Regions from separate parts of the Homo sapiens genome. Here all the other regions are linked to region 2. The links are contacts of gene promoters, found by promoter capture Hi-C in blood cells and fetal thymus (Javierre and others, 2016). All regions are on one chromosome and are shown on one strand. Each heading gives the region's core, a stretch centred on a gene start or on the middle of the fragment in contact. The rest is flanking DNA. Distances are from core to core; before and after follow the strand shown. Region 1 overlaps PDHX (pyruvate dehydrogenase complex component X). Region 2 holds the start of CD44 (CD44 molecule (IN blood group)). Region 3 overlaps SLC1A2 (solute carrier family 1 member 2). Region 4 overlaps SLC1A2 (solute carrier family 1 member 2). Region 5 overlaps PDHX (pyruvate dehydrogenase complex component X). Region 6 overlaps PDHX (pyruvate dehydrogenase complex component X).

Region 1 (2,700 bases), core at 190-2,689, 210 kb after region 2:
TTTCCCTGCCATTTCTGCTACATGAGCAATTTACCAATCACTGAATTTTACAGTAATCCCTCTAAGCAATTCCTGTATTTCCTCAAATGGGCTCTTCCAATTTTTCTACAGCATAATTCTGACTTCAATTTCAAATATGGTACACTAATCTAATTCTAGTTTCTTCTTCCCTAAAGTATTTCTTTTATCCTAAGAACAAAATGCTCATACTTCAGCAAACTCAATTATATCAAAGCTTTAAATTGATGATTGATTCATGAATGCTAAAAGGTCTCTAGATTAAAAAAAAAATTTAATACAAGCAAACTCTTAAAATACAAATGCAGAACAAACTGCTTTATGGTTAATATGAAGCAGATTTAAGCTCCATTACTCTGACTAAAGTAATTAAGGGAATTCAGCAGTTTACATATGGTACAGCTTAAACATCATGCTCTAGTTCATTTATAGGCTCTAGTTCATTTATAATCCAAGCATGCAAAAATCATGAAATGAAGATAGACCAAATGAAAAAGTAAATTATCCAGTACTTTCTTAGTGTGGCTCCCTGTCTCTAACATTAATTTGCTTCTTCTCTAATAGGGAGAGAGACTGTTCATTTAATCACTTCTCATTCCAATGTCAGAACACACTAAATAAAACGGAGCCTTCAAAATTGCTGTTCAAATGAAACAATTCTGCCATCTGCAGGCTGGATGAAATAAGGCAGAATAAAGTAAAAGTAATTTAAAAATCAGCACTAGGCACAGAGTAATATTAACACTTGGAATAAAGGCAGTTATAGTATTTTTTGTTTTAAAGGATCGTTTGTCATATAAGTCTTCTTTGTTCAAATAGTTATTTTGGTGTGGTACTGGAGTAAAAATAGACTGAAAATGTCAATGGACCACAACAGAAAATGAATGCACAACAGTTTGTGTGAAAACAGCATTTACAGGTCTTGGCATGCTAACAAACATAAAAAAGATAACCCATAAGCAATATATAGGTTGAGTATGCCTTATCAGAAATGTTTGGGACTATAAGAGTTCTTAATTTCAGATTTTTTCAGATTTTGGAATATTTGCATTCATTATTCTTACTGGTTGAGCATCCCTAATCTCAAAGTCCAAAATCCCAAATGCTACAATGAACATTCCTTTGAGCATCACCTCTGAGCATCATGTCAGTGCTCAAAAAGCTTTGGATGTCAGATTTTCAGATTAGAGATGCTCAAACCTGTATATGGCATCATCCAATTACTACCTGCCCAGCTTGTACACATACAAAGATTGAAATGAAATACTCCAAAATGACAATAGTAGTCATTCTAGCTAGTGATATTACTATAAGGGCTTTTTATTTCTTTTATTTCTGATAACCTACATTTTCATACATGTCTACAATAAATTTATCCAATCTTACTTCCTCTTTCAAACTTAACTAACACTAAGTTTAAAAATGTGCTGTTTGCTTTTGTTAATTTTAAGCAGAAACCCACAAGGACACAGAGAAAAGGAATAACAGCATACAATTTTGGAAGCAGAAAAGTAAATAGATACGTAATAATCAATTAAAGAGACCCTAGAAAGCTGTATCCTAAGCCAGGGAGGATTTGGGTGGCTGCTGTTTGAAAAGTAGCTAGATACCTGGATCCCCTCTCTTAATCCAGTGGTAGGTAACAACCCTACCCTCATTCAACAGAAGACTGAAGCTTGTTTTCTCTGCAGAGGGCAAAAAGAAGAGCTTGAAGTTCAATCTACATAGCTGAGGATATATAAAAACTGCAAAAATAAGTTAAGTGAGAAAGTATCTGATGTGGCTGACATTACAGAAAACTGTGTGGAGAAGCTATTACATACCGTGAGATAAATTAGAAATTATCACAGAAAAAACTAACTAAAAATTTAAAGGGCAGCAATAACTGCAGCAAAAAGAAAGCTAACAAACAAAATATGGGACAATCCTCAATTGTGCATAATATTTGTTTAATGTAAACACTGAATATTTGACCAAGAATTACAAAATAATTTCACTGGGGAGGGAAAACAGAGGGCGGCACTGACCGGCAGTCATCCACAGAAAACGGCTAAAATAGAAACAGAGAGATGGGCAAATGCCAGAAGAAAGTTAAGAGACAAAACTAGTTACTTCTAAGGAAGACTGGGAAAGTTGGGTGAGATGGGGCAGAGATCCACTGTACTGTTACAAGCCTTTCAGTACTATTTAAACTATATGCATGTACTATTGTGCTAAATGAAATATTTTATTATTTAAATATTTAATTTAAAAAAACTCAAGGAGAAGCAGAATACCACAGTGATTTAGAGAATAGGTACTGGAATCAAACTGCCTAGGCTCTAATTTCAGATCCACCACCTACAAGTTATTTATTCTATCTATGTCTGTTTCCTCTTCTCTAAAATGGTGCCATAAATAGATTTTTGTAAAGAAATAAGGTAGGCCGGGAGCAGTGGCTCATGCCTGTAATCCCAGCACTTTGGGAGGCTGAGGCGGGTGGATCACATTAGGTCAGAAGTTCAAGACCAGCCTGGACAACATGGTGAAAGCCCGTCTTTACTAAAAATACAAAAATTAGGCTTGGTGGCACATGCCTATAGTCCCAGCTACTTGGGAGGCCTGAAACCGGGAGGCAGAGGTTGCAGTGAGCCGAGACCGCCCCACTGCACTCCAGTCTGGGCGACAGAGTAAGGCTCCATC
Region 2 (2,700 bases), core at 161-2,660:
TCCTACTGCAGAAAGTAGGAAGATAGAGAAAGCAGAAAGTAATTCAAGATACTTTATACTGGGTACTCAATCTAAACTACCTGGGTGAGACTGTGTGTTTCAATTTCTCAGTACTCCCGTGGAACTGGGTTAATAAATATTTGCTGAGTAGAATTTACTGCATGCAGGCTGAGCTGTCTTAATGACCCAGCTGGCACTTCTTAAAAGAAAGATTAATTTTGGCCAGCGATAAGCAAATCGGCCATGTAATTATCTGTACATACATAGACAAAGAAAGAGAATGCTTGGAGTTGAGCCGTGCTAGAATATACCTTACACGCAGCCCCTCCCCTCCATAGCCACCACAAAGCACTGACCCTGTTTGGATGAGATATTGGAGCCCTAGCTCCAGGGTCCCTGATGTTGCCCTGGTATCAAGGCTCTTCTCTCTGCTCTGAGGCTGCCAGGCAGGGAATATAAGCCACCTTACTGTTGAGATTTCCCCACACTGATTGGCAGAAGCAGGAGGTGGTGAGGACCAAGCAGCTGGTCCAGTGGTTGCCTCTCATATTCATGCTCCCTATCCCAGGCTGGAATCTCATGGAGACCCAAGACCTCACCGCAGAGCTGGTTCAAGCTTCCACAGCGCTAAGGTGGCAGTGACACTGCGGACTGTAAGCTTTGGAACAAGGCTCAGTGGGGAGCTGGGAGAACCCAGGACCCCTTTCTGGAAAACCCATTGCCAGCTAGTCTCACACTTGGAATTGTGATCCCTTCTGTGACCACCTTGATAACAGCCACTCGCCCTGTTCCAGCCCCAGTCTCTGCCCCGCCCAGCTCTGCCCTGCCTAGACACAGCCCGGTGGGGCTTGGCGAGCCCTTGGGCACAGGAGCCTGTTAGTCCAGACAACGACTGTGCGCATCCGGGAGAACGGTTACTTTCTGCCATGTGCTGCAGCTCTAGCGACCTCGCCCAAAACTGCGCGCCGGCAGCCTGCCCAACAAACTTTCTTCTCTTTCTCTTTTTCTTTCAACCAAATGGTGCTTCCACAGACACATTCTCCAACGGTTTAGCGCAAATCCCAGCCCTGCTTTCCGGAGCCCAATGCACTTCGCAGACAGCTCACTTGACTCCAGTCCCCCAGGGCCGACTCAGCCGGAGGGGCTGCCGCCGGGTCCGCGCTGAGCACCCCGCACCCATCTTGCTGCCCAGGCTGCGGCGGGCACTCACCGATCTGCGCCAGGCTCAGCGGCACGAGGCAGAGTCCCCAGGCTGCGTGCCACCAAAACTTGTCCATGGTGTCCGGAGCGAACGGAGGGCGCGGGCGAAAGGAGCTGGAGGATCCCTGGGCGCGGGGCAGGGGCCGGCGGAGGACGGGACGAGGATGGCGGACCGAACCTGGCAGAGGCTGGGGTCCGCTGGGCAATGAGGCTGCCTCGGAAGTTGGCTGCAGTTTTTATTCGAGGTTGAAAACAGTGACCTAAGACGGAGGGAGGGAGCGAGCGAAGGACACACCCAAGCAAGGGGGGCTGTGACTAAGCAGCCCGCAGAGGTTTTAAGAAGTAGCAGCCCTCCCGGGCGGGCCCCTCTGCCCCCGCCCCGTGCTCTGCTGAGGCTGTAAATAATCGGGGCTGCCAGGGACGTGGGTCGGGGAACCTGGAGTGTCGCGGGGTGCCTGTGCCTCCGAGCCCCACTGGCCCCTGCGCCCAGAGACGCACTGGCTTTCTTCTCCCGCTGGCCCCGCGGCGTCAGGACAGAGGATGACCGAACCGTAAAACCTTGCACCATTGGGTTCAGCCTTTGGCCTCTCCTTTCCCGCTAAATTTCTCTGAATCCGGCTGGAGCAAGATCTCTGGGTTTCACAGGATGTTGGATATCCTGGGAGAGGAGCTGGAGAGAGGGCGAGGTCTTGCCCTGGGTGGCGCAGTGCCTCCGTGCCCACAGTGGGGAGTGAGGGGTGGGGAGTTGGTGAATCTTCCAAGTGGAAAGAGGGAGAGCTCATTCTTTTTCCCCTCAATAACAAGTCCACATGGCTTGAATGAATTTTAGCTTCTTGGCAGAACAGCTCAGGGAAAGCTACTGATGGCCTGTCATAGGGCTGGCATTTGGCTCAGCTAACCCATGTGTTCAAGCCAGTGTGAATGGGCACCTCTCTCCACACACATGCTCATTCATCCTCCTAAATATCCTTCCATCCGCCCATCCATCTATCCACCCATCTTTCCTTATGTCCTTCTGGGGCTCTCACATCCATCCATCCTCCTGTCCATCCACTAACCACTTAGGTCCATCTATCATCCCACTCATTCATTCATCCAACCACACACCTTTTAATTTATTCAACCACCTATTCTTCTATTCATCTTCCCATACAACTTCTCATCCATCATTCCACACTTCCTTTTTCACATCTCTTCATAAAACCACAACCATCCACCATCCTCTTCTCCACCCATCCACCCACATATCTGTTTATTGATATATCCACTCATTTCCCATCTGTCCAAGATCAACATATCCACCTATCATTTTATCCATTCTCTCATCCACCCATACGTTCATCTATTATTTTTGCCCCCATTATCCTCCTTTCTGTGTAAACATTAATTCATTTTCTCCCATCTTTCCTACCCAGCAGATCTTAAAGAGAGGAAGAGTTTGTAATATTCTTCAGGGGAAGCCTTTTGAGATTGAAATATCATACTTTGAATGATAACTCT
Region 3 (2,700 bases), core at 1-2,500, 210 kb before region 2:
GGGGAGTGGAAACCTTAAGAGCAAAGAGACAAGAAAAGGAGAATGTCATCCCAACCCCATCTGTCTCTATCAGAAGGTTTCTAAACAGCCACATTCACTCCATTCTAAGTCACCCTTAGTTGTAAATTGCACTCACAATGTAATAATAGTTTTTCAAGTAAAAAGAGACATACTATAGTAGATAAATGTTGATATTGACTATAATATGCATCCCAATTTCAGAAATGTTAAATCTTAAAAAAAAAGCCTATCTTAGAAGCAAGGACATAAGATATCAAAATTCAAAGTCGGTCTTGAAATGATTATTGCTATTATTGTCATTGCTTTTATATTGAGGTCTCTGGTTGTCACTGCTGGGACAGTTTTCATTGGCCATCTCTGCTGCCCAGGCACATGCTTCCCCACCACATTGATAGGATCTCTTGCTTCCTGCTCAAACCTCCCCTCTTTTCTCCCCAGCTCCTTAATTCCCAATCCCTTGAGTTCCCATTGATTTCTCGCATGGTGCAGTTTAGCCATGCATGAACTCACTGCCAACCATCTCAACCTAACCCTCTGAAATGTATCCAGTAAGGTGTATTACAAAACAAGGGCAGCTCTCTCAGTGCAGTGAGCATGCCCTGAGACAGCTTGCAATTCTAGACAGGGGTGAGAATATCAGGAGGAGAAATTGTGCCACTCCTTTGCAGAAGGGAACTGGGGCCTTACTGCTTTCTCAAGAGGCAGCATTGGAATGGCTTCTAGAAAGATGGGCTTGGCCTTGGGATGGTGAAAATGCTCTCTGTCTGTGACCTCTGGGGCTCAGCCAAGGCAGGGATGGATAAAGAACTAACCTGCCCTGCCTGCCAGCCAAAAATAGTGCTAACTGCGTCACAGAGCTTTTGGTAATTAAACCTTCCCTCTGCAGAAAGCTGTGGCTTGGACTGATAAGGGACCGTGGATGTGTTAAGGTAATTCACTCCCAACACTGACATTCTTCACTCAACATCAGAAGCAGGCTGGAAAACTAAGTGGAACTAGATGAAGTTTGAGATTCATAACCAGGGCATGGTATGTAAGTAGCAAAAAGACAGAACATGTGCCAACAAAGTTTCTTATAGATTAAGTAGTTCTTTGTTTTTACTCTGAGTCATATGGACTTTTTTCCTTTTTGGTCAGTCAGCTTAGTTAGCAACTTTGTTTCTGATCATAAAAATGCTTCATTTTTGCTGTAGAAAGTTGGAAACATAAAGGAAAGAAGCAATAAGGAAGTAAAAACCCATCCATCATCTTATCATTCACAGATAGCCACTAGGAACCTTTTGTGTCCACTTTTTTCTCGATGCAATGTACAATTTTTATAAAATTATGATCAGGGCCAGATGCGGTGACTCACGCCTGTAATCCCACCAATTTGGGAGAATGAGGTGGGTGGATCATGATGTCAGGAGTTTGAGACCAGCCTGGCCAATATGGTGAAACCCCGTCTCTACTAAAAATACAAAAATTAACAGGGCGTAGTGGCATGCACCTGTAGTCCCAGCTACTCAGGAGATTGAGGCAGGAGAATCGCTTGAGCCTGGGAGGAGAGGGTTGTAGTGAGCCGAGATTGTGCCACTGCACTCTGGCCTGGGCAACAGAGCAAGACTCTGTCTCAAAAAATAAATAAATAAATAAAAATAAAAAATAAAATAATAATCAGAGTATATCTGCAGTTTTCTGTCTTACCTTTTAAATGTACACACAATATACTCCCAATCATACTGTATCTGATGGGGTCATTCAATATTACTTGAAAACCAGACTGTTTTTAGCTTATAAACCTCCTTAGGGCCTGAGCTGAGTGGGGTGAAGTATCTGGGAGAACACACGTCCATGTCAGTAGGAAAGTGCTCTGGTCTGGAGTGTTCTTCAGACAGGATCCATGGTCCCAGGAGAAACTGACATGCTGTCTGGGAAAGCAGAGATGTTCTGGTCATTTTGGGAGGCAGAGAAGGAGTGGGAAGTTCACTGGGGAGAGCATTATGCAGAGAGAAGAGCATGGGCTCGTAAGTAAAGCATTCCTGGCTTGGATTCTGTCTCTGGCACTAATCAGTTGCCTGATCATGGTTAGCCTACCTAATCCTCTAAACCTCAATTTTCTCACTTATAAAGTGGGACTAATGGTATTATGTATTTCACTGGGTTATTGGAGGATAGTACCTGACTCAGAGTAAGTACTCAATGAATGTTAGCCATCATTAGTATATTATTTTTATTAATCTCTCCAACAAGGACTGGGTCAGCTGATTCTATTGGATGAGGATAGTGGGTAGATGGGTTCACTCTTTAAGATAATCTTTAAAAGGAAGTAAAAATATTGGTGGCTTTTAGTATTAATATGTTCTCTCAGAGAGAAGGTGTATTTAAAGTTTAGGGGAGTCAGAAGAATGAAATCTTAAGGCTCCTTCCATTTCATTTTCCAGACCATGAATTGAGGACACTTCAGTGCCTGGTAGGAGATTTGGGTTCAGACCAACAAGCAGCTCCAATCTCAGCCCAGGCATCTTCCTAATCAGGCTTGATGGGCAGCTGCAGCTATAAGTATTTAAATAAATCATCAAAGGGTTTGTTGCATCAGCCAAGCTTTTTAGAGTCCCAAATTTAAAAGCTGAGATAAAATCTTATCTTGCTGTGTCTTTACGGAAGGATCCCCAGATACCTGGGGTTAAGGTCTGGCTC
Region 4 (2,700 bases), core at 91-2,590, 140 kb before region 2:
CCCTGGTGTCAGGACAGGGCACTTGAACTCCAGATTAACCCTCTCCCAGAGACAAACTTCAAAATGGTGCTGGGTGTGGCCCTGGCATTGCTTGGAAAGAACTGATGAGATGCTTCAGAAAGAAAGCCTTCCTTTCTTTCATTATCATTTCTTGGCATCCCCTTTCTGAATAATGTATTTTCCAGCCCATGGTGAGGCATCCAGGCGCCTGACGCTTAGTGTCATTTGGAATCTGTTGATTTGTTTCCCTGATGTCCAACTCAGTTGGGTCTGGATATTTGCTATTCTGAGTTCTCATGTTAACCTTGGCAATGGCCTTCTTAGACCCTTGCCACATAGTCCAAAAGCCTCTGGTGCTCACAGAGACATAAAAGCGTAAGCAGAAATGAATGCAGTTGTGTTCCCATGGGAGGATTAAGGGTGATTTGTTTTTATCTTTAATATTTCCTTGCCTGCTTTTAGAGCCACGCTTGCCTTATTTGAGCCCTGTGATATATTAGACTAACCGGATAGCATCATGGGAATAAGGCTCCAGTCCATGAATTTATAAGCTTACATCATAGTTGAGCAGTACCCAAATAGGCCTTAATCCTTAATTCCTTGGTCTTAGTACTTTAGATTTCTCTATTCCTTGGTGGAGAGTATGGGGTGGGGGTTGGGGGATGAATTTTATGGCTGCAGGAAAATTAGAGCTTAAAATTGCCAGGGTTGGTTTTGCTAAGATTCTTTCCATTTCCATGACCTGAACTTCTCTGTTCTCATAGCCTCACAGCCACCCTGGCAAGCGTCGGCGCGGCCAGTATCCCCAGTGCCGGGCTGGTCACCATGCTCCTCATTCTGACAGCCGTGGGCCTGCCAACAGAGGACATCAGCCTGCTGGTGGCTGTGGACTGGCTGCTGTAAGTGTCTGTGGATGGGGTTCTGCTGGGACTGTGAGTACTGCCTCCTAGGGATGCACAGGTGGCAAGGTTGCAACCAAGATCTTAGCTAATCCCCATGGCAACTCCCTCACTCTTCCTTCCTCCTTCCCGCTCACATTTACTGAGGACCTATTTGAGAACCAAAGAAGAAAAAGATGAAATATTTGAAGGCGTCACAGTCTAGTGGAGGAATCAGAGAGATTATGACACAAGGTTAAAAGTACAGTAATAAGGAACCAGCTACTGATGCATTCAAAGAATCTCAGAACATTATATTGAATGAATAGAGCCAGAAACAAAGGAGTATGTACTGTATGATTCCATTTATATGAAGCTCTAAGAAAAGACGATGTACCACATATCAATAGAAAGAGATCAGTTGGGGCTGGGTGCGGTGGCTCATGCCTGTAATCCCAGCACTTGTGGAGGCCGAGGCAGGTGGATCATCTGAGGTTAGGAGTTCAAGACCAGCCTGGCCAACATGGTGAGACCCCATCTCTACTAAAAATACAAAAAATTAGCTGGGCGTGGTGGCATGTGCCTATAATCCCAACTACTCAAGAGGCGGAGGCAGGAGAATTGCTTAAACTCGGGAGGCGGAGGTCGCAGTGAGCTGAGACTGTGCCACTGCCCTCTAGCCTAGGGGACAGAGTGCGACTCTGCCTAAGAAAAAAAAAGAAAAAAGAAAGAGATTAGTGGTTTCTTGGGCCAGGTATAGGGGGATAGAGATTAACTGGGAAGGAACACAAGGAAACCTTTGGGAGTGACAGAAATGTTCCATATGCACAGGTATGCACAGGTGTCTACATTTGTCAAAACTCTTCAAAACACACACTTAAAATGGGTACGTTTTGTTGTATGTAAATTATGCTTCAGTAAAGTGATTAAAACACAGCACACACATAAAAGCATAGTGATAGAGAGAGGCCTTCATCCCAGTCAAGAATGGAAGGACAGAGCGGAGAATATCAAGAAACATGAAAGTGGTTACTGAATTTGAGTGTTCACTAGGTTCCAGCTACTAGACTGAGCACTTTACATCTTCCTCTTTAACAACCTTGAAAGTTAAATGTTATTATTCCCACTTTATAGATGAGGACACTGAGGTTTATAGAGGTAAAGAGACTTAGAAATGGACAGATATTCGACCCTAGGTCAGGCTGCCTCTGGAGCCTGACAAATTCTTGTTTATGGTCACATTCAAGCTTCTAAAGGCAGTGGTAGCTGAGCTGAATCATAACCAATAGGTAAAAGTTTCTCAGGTGTATGTAGGGAGACGGGGAGACAGGACATTCCAGTCAAGGCCAGCCTGCACAAAGGCACTGAGGCTACCAGCAGTGTGAGGATGTACAAGTGGTCTGGTACTCTTGGAGGCAGGGCGTGGTGAAAGGTGAGCAAGACGGACATCCTCAAAGGCCATGCAGAGAAACTTGAACTTGACCATGTATGGTAGTTCAGCTACCTTTCCCAGTGAAGGACATTTTCCTCATGTAGAATACTCACTGCCCATTCACAAAGGTGGGAAAGTCTAACCAGATGGTCTTCGACAAGGGGGTTGGAATGGATCCCCTCTAAGTGCCCACTTGGGCTTGGATGTTCTGTGAGATGTAATCTGATGCCTCCTGTCCAGCACTGGAGTTAAATGATAGGGCCTCCGGCAATGCCAGTCTTCAATGTCAGAGGCACAGAGTGACAAGTGCTGGCCCAGAGTCCCAAGGCCAAAGTGCCCACACTTATTTTTCAAACTGCCTGACTTGCCAGTAGCAAATTTTCTGACATT
Region 5 (2,700 bases), core at 34-2,533, 160 kb after region 2:
TAATTATAAATGTACTTTAAATACAGTCTGTTAACAAGCAGTGATCCCAGAAAATAGCCTCGTTACAGAAAGGAGGCATGATGAAAAATAGTGCCAGGCAGGAAGGCAGGAAGCCTGGGTTCTAGATTTACAACTCCAGCCAGCTAGGTTTACATCACCTCCACTGAACTGCAGGCTCATATGTTCACCTGCCTTCCTGCCACCTCCACTGGAATATCTGTTAGGCTCCTCAAATGTAACATGTCTAAAACCAAACTCTAGATTCCTTAACCCAAAGCTATACCCCTCCCAGTTTTCCCAATCTTAGTACATGGAAAACTCATTCCTCCCATTGCTTGGGCCAAAATGCTTGTTTCTCTTTCTCACACCCCATATCCAATCCATCAGCAAATCCTGTTGGCTCTACTTTTGAAACATAACACAAATCTCCACTTCACCCTAGCTCCATTTGCTACCACATTTGTCCAAGCCACTGTGATCTTCTAAAGCCTCCCAGGGGAGCTCATCGTCTCCTCCCTTGCCTCTCCACAGGCTACATTCTACACAGCACCCAGGGCAGCCTCTCCTTTTCGTTTCTGAAGTATAAGTCAGATCACATTAGTTATTTGTTCAAAACCCTCCAAAGGCTTCCTTCTCACCCATAATAAAATCCCTAGTCCTCACCATGTCCAACAAGGCCTCATGTACTTGGGTTCCCCTTCATGCTCTCCCACTGTTATTTAAATCTTATCTCCCACCTCTCCATACTAGGCACATTCCACCCTCAGCACCACATCTTTGGTTAATGCGATCCTCTGCTTGCAGCCTTGGTGTTTGCTGGTCCCTCTGTGTGGAATGCACTTTTACCACATACCTATGTGGCTCACTCCCTCTGTTTTCTCAGGCCGTATCTAAATTATCGCCTTGTCAGAGGGGCTTCCCTCGCTTCCCTTTTGAAAAATCACCCCTAGTTACTTTGTCCCCTTATCCTTTCTTTTTCTCCTCAGCACTTTCACCATCTGACATATAATAGTGTTTGTCTCCTCCAACTAGAATGTAAGCCCCAGGGACAGCAGAAATCAAGTAAGCTTTTGTTTACTGCTCTATCTCTAATGCCTAGAATAAATGGTTTTCATCCTGCTCTAATTCATTGTGAGCCCTTTTGATTTACAGTTTCTTCATTTGTAAAATGAGGGAGATCAAACGATAGGATATTTTTAGCAAGACAATTATAAAATTTTTGTGATTTAAAAATAAGAGTTCTATTTGTCATTGTAAAAATTCCACGACATGAAACTACTTAAGAAGACAAAATCATTTGAAGTCTGCTACTTACTTTAAGGGTAACAGCTGCTGCCTTGATGATAAAATCATTTACTGATACTTTAATGTCATCTGAAAGAAAAATAAGGTTAGTAAAATTAGTATTCCTAATATAACTTTAACATTGACCATTACAACTTCAAACTTGTAAATTATGGAATGTACTGACAAACAATGATAAAAAATTACAAGCTTTTGTTTGCTTAGTCAATAAGGTTCCCATGATTAGAAAAACTTGCATTATATGAGGTCCTGGATCAATAATATTAACCATGAATGTAAGTTTACTTCTGGGCCTTGGTTATCAATTTTTTAAATTGCTTAGATATCATACACAAGAACCTGAAGGACCCATTACAAGCATAATCAGAAAAAAAGAACTAACTCCTATGTCTCGAAAAAGACAAATGATCTCTCTGTGGTGTGTGCAGTCAGGAAGTTTACAAGATGATTCATTTTCTTCCTCGTTCTTTTCAAATACCCTTATTCTCTGTATGCTTTATAACATACTGATTATACTAGAACAGTGATACATGTAGGTACTTTATATATAAACAGTTATATATACACATATGGGAAAGTGTTCGAAAATTTCTTTTTACTAATGGGGTGTAGGTGAAAAAAAATTTAACTGCTTTTTAACTTAACAAAACAGGATATAACAAAAGCCAAAGATGAAGCAATGCTGGCATAGGTCCTAGTGTGATTAATAAAATGAGGTTCTCCATCCATAGTTTTATGGTGAATGCATTTGAATCAATTTCTTTCCAGTATACATAATGATTTTAAGATAAAGCTGGGGTCCTCCCACTTCCTACGAGCTGATCATAACTAAAGTATTTGTTTATGTCTTTGCATTTGCCACTGGGTATAACAGTGTTAGAAAATGTAAACAACACTTGATTCTTTCTTGCAAGAGCTTATAGAAAAAGACTCTAAGATCTAGATCTAGTCAGTGGTATGTGGCAAAAAACCTATCCTATTACTAAAGTATCACGGAATTTTAGGTGAATAACAGCTCATTCCAAAGGCATCCTGGAGACTACAGAAAGGGATTAGATGAATTACCATAAACCTAAATACTGTCAAACTGTCACGATAACTGTCAGCTGCAAAGTATCAAAGCTCCTCTAATTCAGAATTCCAGAAATATATAAACATTTTTGCTTAAAACCCCTTTAGGAATAGAAATATAAATGGACTTACAGTGCTTACAAGCTTTTAATGATAACCACATAGAAAGATTTGGTTTGTACAAATTCAAATGTAACAGTTCATGAACTTACTCTGCTTACCTTTCATGGCTCTCTCAGCTTTCTCTTCACTTTATCTACTTACCCACAGGTATTCACAGTGAAGACTTCTAAAACCATCTGCCAGCTAATGACCCCCAAACCT
Region 6 (2,700 bases), core at 100-2,599, 180 kb after region 2:
CAACTATTTGGGAGGTTGAGGTGATAGGACCACTTCAGCCTAGGAGTTCAAAGCTGCAGTGAGCTATGAATACACCACAGCACCCCAACCTGGGTGACAGAGTGAGAGCCTGTCTCTCTCTTAAAGAAAAAAAAATTCAAAACGTTAAAAAATAAAAAAGTGTGCTAAGATATTTTGGGGACAGCTATGCCAAAGCCTGCAATTTTTCAACCATAGCAGAAGACGACATTAGGCTAAAATTTTTTCCAAAGCTCACCTTAATGATAAACTTAAAATGCAGGCATTTTTAGCAGTATAGAAAAGCAAAAATCCTCAATAATATATGCTTTCAGGATCCATTTTTCTCATGAAATCTTTTGTACTAGTTCTTATTTTGAAGACCAAAGGCTGATGCCTTTCTCGTGGAGAGTTAAGGAATAAAGGCAGGGAAGAGAAAAGGGTAACAGGGTAGAAAAGATGGCAATAATACTAAAAGCCTAACTCTTTAATACTGCTTCCTTATGGTATTCAGGAGATAATACCATTTTGTTCTTAAGAAATGTTTCATTAATATTATAACTTTCAACTCAGGTTTAAAAAAAGATATTTGCGCATCATATATGTATTAAGCACACATGGAAAGAAAAGGAAGGAAGAAACCTTTATTTCTTTATTTTACTGCTGTCACACTACTGAACACCATATTACCAAATTTAAGAGGCTTTTCTTAGATCCTACCATCCTTGACTTTTCCCACATTTCCCAGGTATCCTCCAACTCAAGGATTTTAACCTCTAGTTTCCCTATTGATGATCTCAATTATAACTATTGCTTTATTATCTACCAAATCTACCTCTCTAATCCCCAACTATCTCCTGAGATACATCTTCATCTCATTGATCCCAATACCTACATGGCTTCTAAGTCCTGACAATAAGCTTCAAACATTACTAACTCCACCAAAACAAATGCTTCCCAAATCCATTATTTCTATTTATGGAGACCAAACTATCATCACCTAGACCAGATCCAAATTCATTCCCTTACTTGTTGCTACTCTGGCCTACACTCCACATTTAATCTGCAAAGGCTTCTGGACTTTATCCTTACAATGTTGTCTGTATCAGGGATCTCCCTTTTAGTTCTTCTAACCACATTCAAGTATTCATTACCTCTTACATGGATTACTTTAGGAGCCTATTAATTTATCTCCTTATCTCATCTTTTTCTGCTCCAGTTTATCTTACACAAATTTGCAGAACTGATCCCCCTAAGGTGCAGCAATCATTATTTTACATTTCACCAAATCCTCAAAGATTAATGAATTAAATACAGACTCTTATTCCTAATCCTCAGAATTATGAGCAAGGCAAATCTACTTTGTTATAAAAATAGTTGCTTTCTCCCATTTTTACAGAGAGTGCTACTAAGGCACAGACTGGTAGAGACTAACAAGATTAAGATACCAACAGTAGACACAAATCAGGATTGGTGTGGGGAAAAAACTGGGATTAACTGGCAACCAAGGTTCTTAATTTTAATTTTTTACAGCTAAGTGTAACTTTTAAATCCTTTAACTAAAAATCCCATGGTCTGGGATGTTGCCTTTCAGTCAGCTCTCAGGACAGCTGATTTCCAACTCATGCAGTGTGGCACGAACTTCACAGTATGTGTGTGATAGAACCACATACATTCAGTTAACAAATTAGTAAGAGTGTAATACACATAAATGAGGATATCTAAGAATTAAATCTATATACTGCTTTCAATAAAATAAACACCCAACAGTAAGCCAAAGCTTTCATGAAGAGTAAAATAACCCAGTGGAAAAAAGAAAACATTGCCTGGCCCAACACTGCCACTTATAATTTAACAACCATTGCTCTCTCTCGACTTACAAAAATTCTGGCCAATATTATTTTTTATTTCCTATCAATATTAGATAAATATGGAATGAGTACATTGCTTTAAAACATAAACTCAATTTGAAACATTTACTATTACTGCCAATAAAAATGTAGCACATAACACTACTGAAATCTTACATTAGTTCATAAGCCTATTTGATTAATCTTTGTCTACCCTACTAGACTAAGTTTCAACAGAACAGGGGCCATCTGTTTTGAAAGACACAAACATTTAAACTAATGGAAAGACACAAACATTTAAACCAGTGTTGCAGAACAGAAAGACCCATCATGATAAAGATGTCAGTTCTCACAAAGTTAATTTAAAATGTGATACAATCCCATAAAAATACCCCTCACTCCTACCCATGGAGCTAGACGAACTGCTTAAAATTCATTTGGAAGAATAATAAAATAAGAATGAACTAAGAAAACTGATTTAAAAAAAGAGCAAAGCTATTGTTATCAGATTTTAAAGCATACAATAAAACATTTCTAATTAAAAGTGTGGTACTAAAAAAGTATGGTACTAACTCATGGACAGATGGATCAGTGAAATAGAAAAGAAAATCTAAAAAGAGACCAAACTGTATATGGAAATTGCTTTATAACAGCACAAGTGAATAAAATTCAAAGGGATAATGAAAATAATTTTTTAAAAATATATTTCCTTGTTTTAGAAATGTAAATGTTATTGCATGATTTCACATATTTAATACTGTATAAAGTTTCACTGTTCTACGCTCTAATTTTCTGCATTTATTACCACTTCTAAGGATCTTGCTTAGTTACCAAATTAGAGCTGTTCTTCAGT

Evidence for each region. Contacts are between HindIII fragments. The CHiCAGO score rates a contact against its expected background, and 5 or more counts as called.
Region 1: a contact is called between a fragment that was not itself captured here and the fragment with the promoter of CD44 in region 2, in 4 of 17 cell types (activated CD4 T cells, naive CD4 T cells, naive CD8 T cells and 1 more). The highest score is 8.8, in activated CD4 T cells.
Region 3: a fragment that was not itself captured here is called in contact with the fragment with the promoter of CD44 in region 2 in 2 of 17 cell types (non-activated CD4 T cells and naive CD4 T cells); the score reaches 6.1 in non-activated CD4 T cells.
Region 4: a fragment that was not itself captured here is called in contact with the fragment with the promoter of CD44 in region 2 in 2 of 17 cell types (non-activated CD4 T cells and naive CD4 T cells); the score reaches 6.9 in non-activated CD4 T cells.
Region 5: a contact is called between a fragment that was not itself captured here and the fragment with the promoter of CD44 in region 2, in 2 of 17 cell types (naive CD4 T cells and total CD8 T cells). The highest score is 5.7, in naive CD4 T cells.
Region 6: a contact is called between a fragment that was not itself captured here and the fragment with the promoter of CD44 in region 2, in 3 of 17 cell types (activated CD4 T cells, naive CD4 T cells and naive CD8 T cells). The highest score is 6.0, in activated CD4 T cells.

The regions. Positions count from the first base shown.
Region 1 is chr11:34,924,262-34,926,961 of GRCh38, reverse strand. All of the region lies in intron 1 of PDHX (pyruvate dehydrogenase complex component X), which reads right to left. Among named protein-coding and RNA genes, the nearest start is that of PDHX, 9.0 kb to the right of the region's middle. The HindIII fragment of the contact is 513 bases long and covers 1,183-1,695 here.
Region 2 is chr11:35,137,881-35,140,580 of GRCh38, reverse strand. CD44 (CD44 molecule (IN blood group)) reads right to left here and starts at 1,410. Exons shown (of 18, transcript NM_000610.4): 1 at 1,211-1,410. The coding sequence starts at 1,277. It overlaps CD44-DT (CD44 divergent transcript), which reads left to right and starts at 2,549. Exons shown (of 3, transcript NR_120528.1): 1 at 2,549-2,700. RefSeq lists enhancers at 13-513, 1,681-2,245 and a silencer at 1,701-1,770. The HindIII fragment of the contact is 6,539 bases long and covers 661-2,700 here.
Region 3 is chr11:35,350,589-35,353,288 of GRCh38, reverse strand. All of the region lies in intron 1 of SLC1A2 (solute carrier family 1 member 2), which reads left to right. Among named protein-coding and RNA genes, the nearest start is that of SLC1A2-AS2, 67 kb to the left of the region's middle. The HindIII fragment of the contact is 2,713 bases long and covers 1-2,606 here.
Region 4 is chr11:35,279,066-35,281,765 of GRCh38, reverse strand. SLC1A2 (solute carrier family 1 member 2) reads left to right here. Exons shown (of 11, transcript NM_004171.4): 9 at 765-899. Among named protein-coding and RNA genes, the nearest start is that of SLC1A2-AS1, 1.4 kb to the left of the region's middle. The HindIII fragment of the contact is 1,574 bases long and covers 554-2,127 here.
Region 5 is chr11:34,976,798-34,979,497 of GRCh38, reverse strand. PDHX (pyruvate dehydrogenase complex component X) reads right to left here. Exons shown (of 11, transcript NM_003477.3): 8 at 1,316-1,374. Among named protein-coding and RNA genes, the nearest start is that of MIR1343, 36 kb to the right of the region's middle. The HindIII fragment of the contact is 427 bases long and covers 1,070-1,496 here.
Region 6 is chr11:34,960,713-34,963,412 of GRCh38, reverse strand. All of the region lies in intron 5 of PDHX (pyruvate dehydrogenase complex component X), which reads right to left. Among named protein-coding and RNA genes, the nearest start is that of MIR1343, 20 kb to the right of the region's middle. The HindIII fragment of the contact is 860 bases long and covers 920-1,779 here.